Regions from separate parts of the Homo sapiens genome. Here region 2 is linked to region 1. Evidence: promoter capture Hi-C in 16 types of primary human blood cells and fetal thymus (Javierre and others, 2016). All regions are on one chromosome and are shown on one strand. Each heading gives the region's core, a stretch centred on a gene start or on the middle of the fragment in contact. The rest is flanking DNA. Distances are from core to core; before and after follow the strand shown. Region 1 holds the start of NAA15 (N-alpha-acetyltransferase 15, NatA auxiliary subunit). Region 2 has its middle 3.8 kb from the start of SMARCA5.

Region 1 (5,667 bases), core at 2,031-4,530:
AGGTCGGGAGTTCAAGACCAGCCTGACCAACATGGAGAAACCCTGTCTCTACTAAAAATACAAAATTAGCCGGGCATGGTGGTGCATGCCTGTAATTCCAGCTACTCGGGAGGCTGAGGCAGGAAAATCGCTTGAACCCAGGAGGCAGAGTTGCGGTGAGCTGAGATCGCACCATTGCACTCTAGCCTGGGCGACAAGAGCGAAACTCTGTCTCAAAAAAAAAAAAAAAAAAAAAGATTCAGCAGCAGGCCGGGCGTTGGGGCTCACATCTATAATCCCAGCACTTTGGGAGGCTGCGGTGGGTGGATTGCTTAAGCCCAGGAGTTCAAGAGTAGCCTGGGCAACATTGAGAAATCCTGTCTATACACACACACAAAAAAAACCCAGAAGCAATAGCAAATTGTTAACATTTGTTAAATCTAGGTGACAAATACATGAATTTCTTTTATATTCTTTTTTTTTTTTTGGAACAAGGTCTCAGCTCTGTTGCCCAGGCCGGAGAGCAGAGGTGTCATCACAGCTCACTGCAGTCTCGACCTCTGGGGCCGAAGGAATCTTCCCACCCAAGCCCACAAAGTAGCTGGGACTACAGGCTCACAGCACCACACCTGGCAAATTTTAAAATTTTTTTGTAGAGACAGGGTCTCACTATGTTGCCCAGGTTGGTCTCAAACTTCTGGGCTCAAGCGATCTTCCTGCCTCAGCCTCCCAGTGTCGGGATTATAGGTATGAGGCATTATGCCTGGCCTATGTTTTTTTTTTTGAGATGTAGTCTCACTCTGTTGTCCAGGCTGGAGTGCAGTGGTGCGATCTTGGCTCACTGCAACCTCCACCTCCCAGGTTCAAGCGATTGTCTTGCCTCAGCCTCCTGGATAGCTGGGGTTACAGGCACGCACCACCACACCCGGCTAATTTTTGTATTTTTAGTAGAGACGGGGTTTCACCATGTTGGTCAGGCTGGTCTTGAACTCCTGACCTTGTGATCCGCCCGCCTCAGCCTCCCAAAGTGCTGGGATTACAGGTGTGAGCCACCAAGCCCAGCCTTTTTTTTTTTTTTAAATAAGATCCAAGTACTTAATAAGATGTAACAGTCTCAATAGAGAACATCTTACATATATGGAGAAATTTCACTCAACATATCCCTTTTGTAGAATTAAAGTTTGCAAGGTAAATGATTTTATTTCTTTCTTTTTGGTTAATATTTTTTAGAGTTAGCATTTGGAACATAGTGACATGCAAGCACATGGGGTAAGATGAATTAACTATCATCAGCAGCAGCAGCGGCAGCATATAGCCTTGGATATGTTAACTTTCTGAAAGCATGGCTGTTACTTACAGTATAACTCAAATGGGATCTCTATTTGTGAAATTGTGGTGATCAGAGTAAATATATATTTTTTTATTCAATTCAGGCTACTGTGTGGTCAGACTGTTATCTGTAGGTGCATTTTAACTAGCAAATGAATCAGTTAAATGTTGAATCAGACTAGTATTTGCCGAGCCTTTAAAATTGCCATTTCTTTGTCATCACCCAAAAAGAATGTAACATTTGCCAAACTCTATTTCTGGCTCATCTAATCAGGTACTCAGGTTCTGGTGGAAGCTACTGATTGTTTCAAAGACCAGAAATTTTCTTCCTCTGAAGGAAAATAGAATATTCTTTACAGGAGAAATTTAGAGAACTATAGCAAATAGTATTGCTGTAGGGATTTTTGGATATGAAGCCAGAAATTTGGATATGAAGCCAGAGATTTGGAAATCCAAGCTAAAACTATCAACTGCATTTAGACTATTTTTTCTGTCTTTCAATAGTTCAGACAGTTGAAAGATCTCTTGGGGCAGTGAATTTTGCAGGTTATTACTAAGTAACAGCTTAAAAATGAATTATAAGCTTGTTCTTAGTTTTATAAAGTTAAGGTTAAAATACTGGCCATATTTCAAACTGAAACATAGTTTCCTGTATATATGATTTTTCTCAAACTTTTGAAGAGAGATCACAGAATTTAAGGAAACTCCAGGATTTGACTGTTAAAAACCTTATTTATGACCCCGGTGAAGGGCGAGGACAATCAATATAGCAGCTACAAAACCCAAGTTTATATTGGGAAACATGTATCTCAACTCACACCTTTCAGGGACAGTTAAGAGAAGTTTGAAAATTAAAATATCTTTGCAAATAAATTTAAAACAGTAAAAAACACGCACATATTGTTTAATAATTCATGATGCAAAGAATGCTACAGAGTGAAATCAGGATTTGGAAAGAGGTAATCAAAAACCAAAGGTTAAAAGTGGCTCATATAACTTGAAAATTTTTAGATCAATGGAATGCCACTTTGAAAAAGTTTTACGGTCAGCTGTTAATGAAATGACTTACATTTTTGGAAGGACTCCTATTCGGTATGTAGTCTGACCTCGCCTACTCGAGTAGTTCCCTCTAGTATCCTTGCCAGTCTTTGGCTTCTAAGATCTGAGAATTTCTGGGGATGGGGAGTTCGAGTCACAATATTAAGAACTAGTTTGAAGCCAGCTCCAGGGTAGTCTGTCTTTAAGTCTCCACTACTCCGCTCCAAGGTGACTCATAAGGTCGGTCCGTCAACTCTGCATTATATGGCCTCAACAACGAAATTAAAACACATACTTTAACCTCCAGAGCCTCCTTTGGCAGTGCAAATATGTCACTTCGGATCTGACTAACTACCTTTCCAGGCTGATCTTAAGCAACATTCACCAAATTACCGATACGACAGCCAGGCCCATTTCATCGGTCAAGCTCTTTCACGATTTCCAGACTCTGTTAAGCCCCTTTCTCCCCAGGGCTGTTAACAAGTCTCCACTGCGGTGAAGCTTTTTTCATTTTCCACTCCGCCTCTGCTCCTTAAATTAGGCATTTCGTCCATAATCAACTACAGCGCTTCTCAAACACCTACACCTGTATTTTAGCACTTTGGGCTCAAACGATGATCACACAGTGTGCGAGACTCTTTCCAAGGAATGAAAGGTCGATCTAGCAGGAAGGCGCCAGAGAGGCTGTTTTTGATGAGGAGGCGGTCTGAACCGTACTTGCCTAGCCTCCCGTAGCTCCGCGGGCGCTTCGAGGGTACCACGCACTGAAATGATGGGCGGGGCCTGCCCCGACCCTCCCGGCCTCCACAGGCAGGCCAGCCTCCAGGTTTCCCGGCAAGCTCCGAAACCCAGAGGAGGTGGGGAAAGGAGGTCACCGCGCCTGCGTGTTAGGAAGCGTGACCCGGGTGGGAAAACCCTCCGCGTCCGCCATTTTGGCTGCCTCTGTCGGTCTGTTCAGTTACCACGTGAACCGCCGACGGAGACCCGTAGTGGGGGAGGCGGCGGCAGCGTTAAGTGAGAAAGGAAAAAAGACAACGAGGAAAAAGGAGGTGTCCGGGTAGGGCAACGCGGCGACACCCGAGGCCTGGTGGTGGCGGCGGATCGAGATATTCAAGGCTGAAGCAGCTACGGAACGGCAGCGGCGGCGGTCGGACAAACTGACTGACCGAGCCGGGTGGTGGCGGGAGCAGCGGGAGCAGCCGGAACGATGCCGGCCGTGAGCCTCCCGCCCAAGGAGAATGCGCTCTTCAAGCGGATCTTGGTAAGTGTGAGGCTCCGGGCAAGCGGTGGGGAGGATTTAGCCGGTAACCGGGCCTGTCACCCCTAACCTCGGCCCGGCGGGCACTGAGCCACTCCCGCCCGGGACCCCGCCTTCATAGCTCTCGTCAGGCCGAATGCATTGCTTTGCTCCCTCTCTGTGGTTCCTACTATGGCCCGCGCGCCAGGGACCACAGGCTTCTTCATTCCATCCCCACGCTTGAGGCCCTGGTTCCGGACTAGGCCCCGACCTCCCGGCTTCTAGACTGCCGGTTCTCATTCTCCCCGATCTGGGGGAGAAGAGGCCCGGCCTTTGGCGGGCAAGTGGGCGACACCGGCAGGAGTCGCGGCCCGGTTGGTGTGGGAACCCTGCTGGCAGGTCGGGGTGGCACCCTTGGAAGGAACAGGTGGTGCGGATGCAGCAGGCTCATTCATTGCCTAAACGCGGTTCTCCCTCCATCATCTGTCCCTCCCTCTTCCTCCTCTCTTGGGATTCACCTGTCTCCGCCCGGCCCGGGGTCACCCAATGACCTGAGAGGAGGGAAAGAAGGAGTTCAGAGAAGGAAAGAAAGCTTTTCAAACGACTACCTCCTTGTAGTCAGTTGCATACTGGAGTCTTCAGCTCCTCTGCCTCCGTTGTTCTCGTTTCTGGAGTAGGGATGAGGCATTTATTTCTTAGTTTCCGAGCGGGAAACAGCCCCACCCCGTCACTCTTCTCGGGAGGTGGGGCCCATTGCGAGGGGGCGGTTCGGTAGGAAGTAAAAAGTTGAGTCTTTAGTTGAAACGTTGCAGACCTAGACTTTTCTTATACACTGAAGTATATTAACACATGCAAAAACTTACCAGAGAAATGAGAATATAAGAACTTTTGAGATGGATTTTGTTGACGCTAGCTCAGACTTATTCCCTACGGTTCAAATGTGTGCAGTTTGTATTTTTTTAAACCATAAATGCATTGATGTTTGCAGGGACTGTTTACATTGTAAAATATGTCCTGTAGCCTTGGAGCTATAATTAACACATTGTAGCACATTTTTTGTTTGGCATTTAGTATGTGGGTTCCCCCTTTCACGCAAACGTTTCCTTATGATAGAATTAACTGTATTTGCCAAATTTAAGACTTTTAAAATTTGGGATGTGTGTGTGAAAGTGTTAGCCTTTTCCCCCGCAGTTATAATTTATTTCACCTGTTTGAAAAGTAGAACAACTCTGGGGATTCAGTTTTTCTAGAAATGAATAATCATCCATTTGAACTAACTTTGATTTTACAAAAGTGTCCATATGCCCTACAGATTTAGTGAATTCATTTTGAAAAACATTAGAAAGTCACATGCAGTGTCGCAAAACTGTTACCTTGAAATTCTTACTGGAATTTTGTTTTGTTTTAAGACTAAGAGTGTAGGTGGAGCTGTAAAATAGTTTTAGGAAAAAAGTTACTTTTAAACCCTTAAAAAGACTAATTGGTGTGCAGGTAGAACTGTAACATAAGTTTAGAATAGCAATTTATCTTTAATCTCTTTTTCACAATTCTTTATTTTGAAAAAAATGAAACTGAAAAGTTGAGAGAACAAGGAACACTCATAAACCTTTACTTATATTTATTTGCCATATATGCTTTCTCTCTCCCTATGTATATGTATATATACATTTGTATAAAAGTAAGTTGTAGATGTAAAATTTATCTCTAGGCTGGGCACGGTGTCTCATGCCTGTAATCCCAGCACTTTGGGAGGCTGAGGCAGATGGATCACTTGAGGTCAGGAGTTCGAGACCAGGCTGGCCAACGTAGTGAAATCCTGTCTCTACTGAAAATACAAAAATTAGTCAGGCATGGTGGTGTTCGCCTGTAGTCCCAGCTACTAGGGTGGCTGAGGCACAAGAATCGCTTGAACCCGGGAGGTGGAGGTTGCAGTTCCAGCCTTGGCAACAGAGGAAGACTGTCTCAAAACAAAAACAAAAAACTTCATCTCTAAATACTTAAGCAAGCATCTCCTAAGAATAAGGACATCGTCTTGTATACTTATAACAATCATTCTCTAATATTGTCTAATATCTGGTTCATAT
Region 2 (4,969 bases), core at 1,800-4,299, 4.2 Mb after region 1:
TTCAGCACTGTGTTGAATATGAATGTTATAAGCAGAAAACCTTCCCTGTTTCAGATCTTAGAGGGAGAGGATTCAATCTCACTAAGTATAATGTTTGCTGTAGGTATTTTGCTGATGCTCTGTATTAAGAGGAGGAAGTTCCACTCTATTTGTTTTCTCTTTTTTTTTTTTTTTCTGAGAGTTTTGTTCTAAATGGGTGTTGGAATTTTGTCAAATGCTTTTTCCTCATCAGTCAATATAATCATGTGAGTTTTCTTCTCTAGCCTGTTGATATGGCAGACAACATTGACTAATACTCAAATATTGAATCAGTGTTGAATATCTGGAATAAATCACATTTGATCAGGGTGCATAATTCTTTTTACACATTGTTTAATTGTATCTGATAATATTTTGTTAAGGATTTGTCTGTATTCATCAGTGATACTGGTCTGTCATTTTCTTTCTTATGTAGTGTCTGTCTGATTTGGTATTAGAGATAAAGCACCTTCATAAAATGAATTACAAAGTGTATCATCCTCTTCTATTATCTGCAGGAGATAGTATGGAATTGGTATTAATTCATCTTTAAATATTTGGTAGAATTTTTCATTGAAACCATCTGTGCCTGAAGATTTCTTCTTTGGGAGTTTTTAATTTATCAATTTAATTTCCTAAATAGTTACAGTGCTATTCATATGATCTTTTTATACTGTTTAAGTGGCTTGAATTTTTCAAGGAAGTGGTTTTAAGTTGTCAAATTTATGTGTGTCGTACTCCTTACTACCCTTTTGATGTTTTCAAGGTCTACAATGATAGGTCCTGTTTTATTCCTGATATTAGTGATTTGAGCTTTGTTTCTTCCTTCCTTCTTACCCTCTCTTTTTTTCCTTTCTTCCTTTCTTGTCAGACTTCCTAGAGGTTTGCCAATTTTACGTATCTTTTCAAAGAACCAGTTTTTGCTTTTTATTTTCCGTATTTAATTTTATTGACTCCTGCTCTTACCTTTATTATTTCCTTCCTTTTGTTTACTTTGGATTTATCCTTGCTCTGCTTTTTTTAGTTTTTTGAGGTGAAAGCTTACATTTGAGACTATTCTCTTTTCTGAATGTAAGCATTTAGTGTATAATTTCCCTCTAAGCACTGTTTTAGCTGTGTTCCACAAATTTTAATATATTGTATTTTTATTCTGTTCAATGTACTTTTTGATTTCTCTTGAGACCTCTCTTTGACCCATGGATTATTTAGAAGCACGTCATTTAGTTTGAATATATCCCTGGTAACATTTTGTTACTGATTTCTGGTTTGACTCCATTGTGGTTAAAAAACATACTCTGTATGATTTCACATCTTTTAAATTTGTTAAGGTTTATGGTCTATCTTGCTATATTTTCTGTGGGTTCTTGAAAAGAATGTGTATAGTCCTACTTTTGTAGAAGAAAAAAATATGTGCAGTGTTGTATAAATGTCAATTAGATCCTATTGGCTGTTGTTAAGTTCTTCTATACCCTTGCTGGTTTTCTGCCTAGTTGTAGTATCAGTTGTTGAGAGATGCTGTAGTCTCCACATATAATTGTGGATTTGTTATTTCTAATTTCAGTTCTGTCACCTTTTGCTTCACATATTTTGCAGCTCTGTTGTTTGGTACATATACATTTAAAATTGCTATGTCTTCTGGGTTGACACTTTCATCATTATATAATGTCCCTCTTTGTCTCATAATTTTCTTTGCTCTGAAGTCTACTTTATCTGATAATGATATAGCCACTCCTGTTTTCTTTTTGCTATTGTTTTAATGATATATATTTTCCATCTTTTTACTTTCAATATTTTGAGCAAAAGACTGCCTAATTTCCTTTGTCTGAAGTTCCTTTTAATAAATGAGATAAAAACTAAATAAAAAAACTCTAATTTCTTAATTGAAGCTTTGTAGTTTATTATTTCAAAAATGTTTCAAAGATGGTGGTTAAAATTTAACTTTGGATCATAATATTTGAGTTCCTAGAAATACTTTACCTAGAACCAGCCCAACAAAAAAGAAATTATTTTTTCATGAGCAGGAAGAAATGCAGAGAAAACCTGAAAAACTTTGACTACATAAACATATGCATATATACCGAGCAGACACAAAGTCTCCCACTATTTAGTTGGTGACTAAATATGAGGGGAATGAAGGGAATATATCCTTACCTGTTTATTAACAGTACAGTTAATGTTTCTCTTTAACTGAAATCTCTGTACATTGACAAATGACCTATGTGGGAGAACTCTAAAAAAGATACATACAACATGTAATCATTGGTATCTGGTGTTGGAAATACCCATTCTTAGATACAAACTCAATACAGTTTTATTGTCTTGCAGTAATCAGACTTTATTTTCTTAAGCTTTGACAAAATGAGTTGCAATGAAGAGAGGTGTTGCATTTCTTCTTTGTCCTTGAGAAAACTTTAACTCCTTTCTGTTACCATTCAAGGACACAATGCTGAGAGAGCCCTGGCTCTTCGGCACATTTTTGTCCTCTGGCAACATCTCTTTGTTCCATTGTATTTCTGTACTGTACTTGCTGTTCTAGCACATTAAATCTAACAGAGGAAATTTTAGGTGTAAACTATGTATATACATATTGGAGATAGAACACTAACATTATTTTACACTGTAGCATTCTGTTGCTGGGAATACGACTAAAGCTCTAATCCTTTCTGGTGTTTTCTTGCTACCAAACCCCTTACCCTCCTCCTTCTTTGGTTCCTCTTCTTTCAACTAGACTCTAAACCTTAGGCTTATGATTCTCAAGGATAAGACTAACACTTGAACCCAGAACTCACTATATGTCAGGCACTGTATCATGTACCTTATACTGTCTCATTTAATTTTTATGACATCATAATATTATCTCAAAATAAAGCTAGGAAAATATAATAATAAAAAGATGAGAAAATTGATTTCAAAGAGGTTAGATAACTTGTCTGCATTCACACAGCTACTAAGTTCCAGAGCCTGCACTGGAATCTAGGCTTGCCTGCTCCCCAACCCACTCTTTTACCAACACATGAATTCTGTATTATGTGATCAATTCAACAACTAGCTGCTAGTTTTAGCCTTTTAGCAGGATTTTGTGATTTGGCCACCATATTAGTATTGCTATCTGCCTGAGGAACACAGCTAATGTCCCTGTAGCTGTTTCTAGGCTTCATGTCTTTTCTGTAGCTCTTCTCTGCTTTTCCTTTCTGGTTCTAAACTCTGCCAAAAATCTTTTTCTCTGTCACTTATGCTAGATAACTGAGTTCGAGCATTCTGTGTCCTCTTGCTAGTTTCCATCTTTTCTCTATAATTTTCCCCCGAATGATTCTAATACAGCTTTCATATGATCATATGAGAAACTCACATGTAAATGCACATGTTAAAAGACAATCGCCATTTTGGAGGCAATTTTTATTTATTTATGTGCATTGTTTTCCTTGCTATTTATTGCTTTCCTTAAATAGTTATCAGACTTAAGATCCTTTCATTTATATACCTACATATAACTTTAGGGTTTCCAGACCAAGACCCAAGATTTCTACCTAAGACTATAAAAAGTGAAGAAACATTTCGAATGCTAAATTAATGTTTTAGTCTATTTAATGTAAATATAAAAATATTATTCATCAAGTATTTATTAAGTATGTGTCAGGTTCCACCCTAGACACCACTTTCTTACCCTTCCACATAATTTTTTTTCGGTGAAAGAACATTTTTTAAAATTAAAAATAAGCTTTCTAAAAATGGGGAGATGTTGGTCAAAGGATACAAAGTTTTGGTTATACAAGATGAATAATTTCTGGAGATGTAATGCACAGCATGGTAACTATTGTTAATAATACTGTTTGCATAGTTGAAATTTGTTGAGAGTAAATCTTAAATGTTCTCACCATGCTGGCAGGCAGTAAATATAAGAGGTGATGTATATGCTTATTAGCTTGATTGCGGTAATCATTTCACAACGTGTTTATATATCAAAACATCACATTGTATGCCTTAAATATATACAATTTTGTGAATTATACCTCAGTAAAGCTGAAATTTTTTTAAAAAAAGTTTTCTTAATACAATAATAGGCAAATTCGGCAGCCTGGCACAGTGGCTGTCACCTGTAATCCCATCACTTTAAGAGACTGAGGCAGGTAGATGGCTTGAGCCCTAATTGTTGTTCAGGACCAGTATGGGCAACATGGCGATCCCTGTCTACACCCAAAAAATACAAAAATTAGCTGGGCTTGGTGGCATGCACCTGTAGTCCCAGCTACTTGGGAGGCTGAGGTGGGAGAATTGCTGGACCCCAGGAGGCTGAGGCTGCAGTGAGTCACGACTGTGACACTGCACTGCAGCCTAGGAGACAGGGCAAGCCACTGTCAAAAAACAAACAAACAAACAAACAAAAACAAAAAACCAGCAACGATCAGTTTCAATACTTTTGTAAATATGCTTCCAACTTTTATCTACATTTTTGAACTGTTAAACCAAATTTTTCAGTTAACACTTTATAAATTAACATTCTTTGGCTAGGTGCGGTGGCTCACGCCTGTAACCCCAGCACTTTAGGAGGCCTAGGCGAGCAGATCACTTGAGACCAGGAGTTTGAGACTAGCCTGGCCAAAACAGCAAAACCCTGTCTCTACTGAAAATACAAAAATTAGCCAGGCGTGGTGGTGCACGCCTGTAATTCCAGCTACTCCGGAGGCTAAGTCATGAGAATCCTTTGAACCTGGGAGTTGGAGATTGCAGTGAGCTGAGATCATGCCACCGCACTGCAGCCTGGGCGACAGAAACTGTCTGAAAACAAAACAACACAAAACAACCATTATTCTACATTAATGGTTGTTAAAGGTTAATAGTTCATTTTCTGGGTGTATGACAGTTTTAAACACCTAACTTTTAATACTGGATTCAGCCTACTGTTGTTAGCTTTTTGCAGTCATATATGAAGACTATGATGAACATCATTGTA

The links. The method cuts DNA at HindIII sites, captures the fragments that hold promoters and counts their contacts. A CHiCAGO score of 5 or more calls a contact.
Region 2: a fragment that was not itself captured here is called in contact with the fragment with the promoter of NAA15 in region 1 in 1 of 17 cell types (naive CD4 T cells); the score reaches 6.5 in naive CD4 T cells.

The regions. Positions count from the first base shown.
Region 1 is chr4:139,298,225-139,303,891 of GRCh38, forward strand. It overlaps NAA15 (N-alpha-acetyltransferase 15, NatA auxiliary subunit), which reads left to right and starts at 3,281. Exons shown (of 20, transcript NM_057175.5): 1 at 3,281-3,607. The coding sequence starts at 3,554. NDUFC1 (NADH:ubiquinone oxidoreductase subunit C1) reads right to left here and starts at 4,253. Exons shown (of 6, transcript NM_001184989.2): 1 at 4,192-4,253. RefSeq lists enhancers at 2,672-2,791, 3,272-3,331. The HindIII fragment of the contact is 1,328 bases long and covers 2,846-4,173 here.
Region 2 is chr4:143,507,373-143,512,341 of GRCh38, forward strand. No RefSeq gene overlaps it. Among named protein-coding and RNA genes, the nearest start is that of SMARCA5, 3.8 kb to the right of the region's middle. The HindIII fragment of the contact is 1,370 bases long and covers 2,365-3,734 here.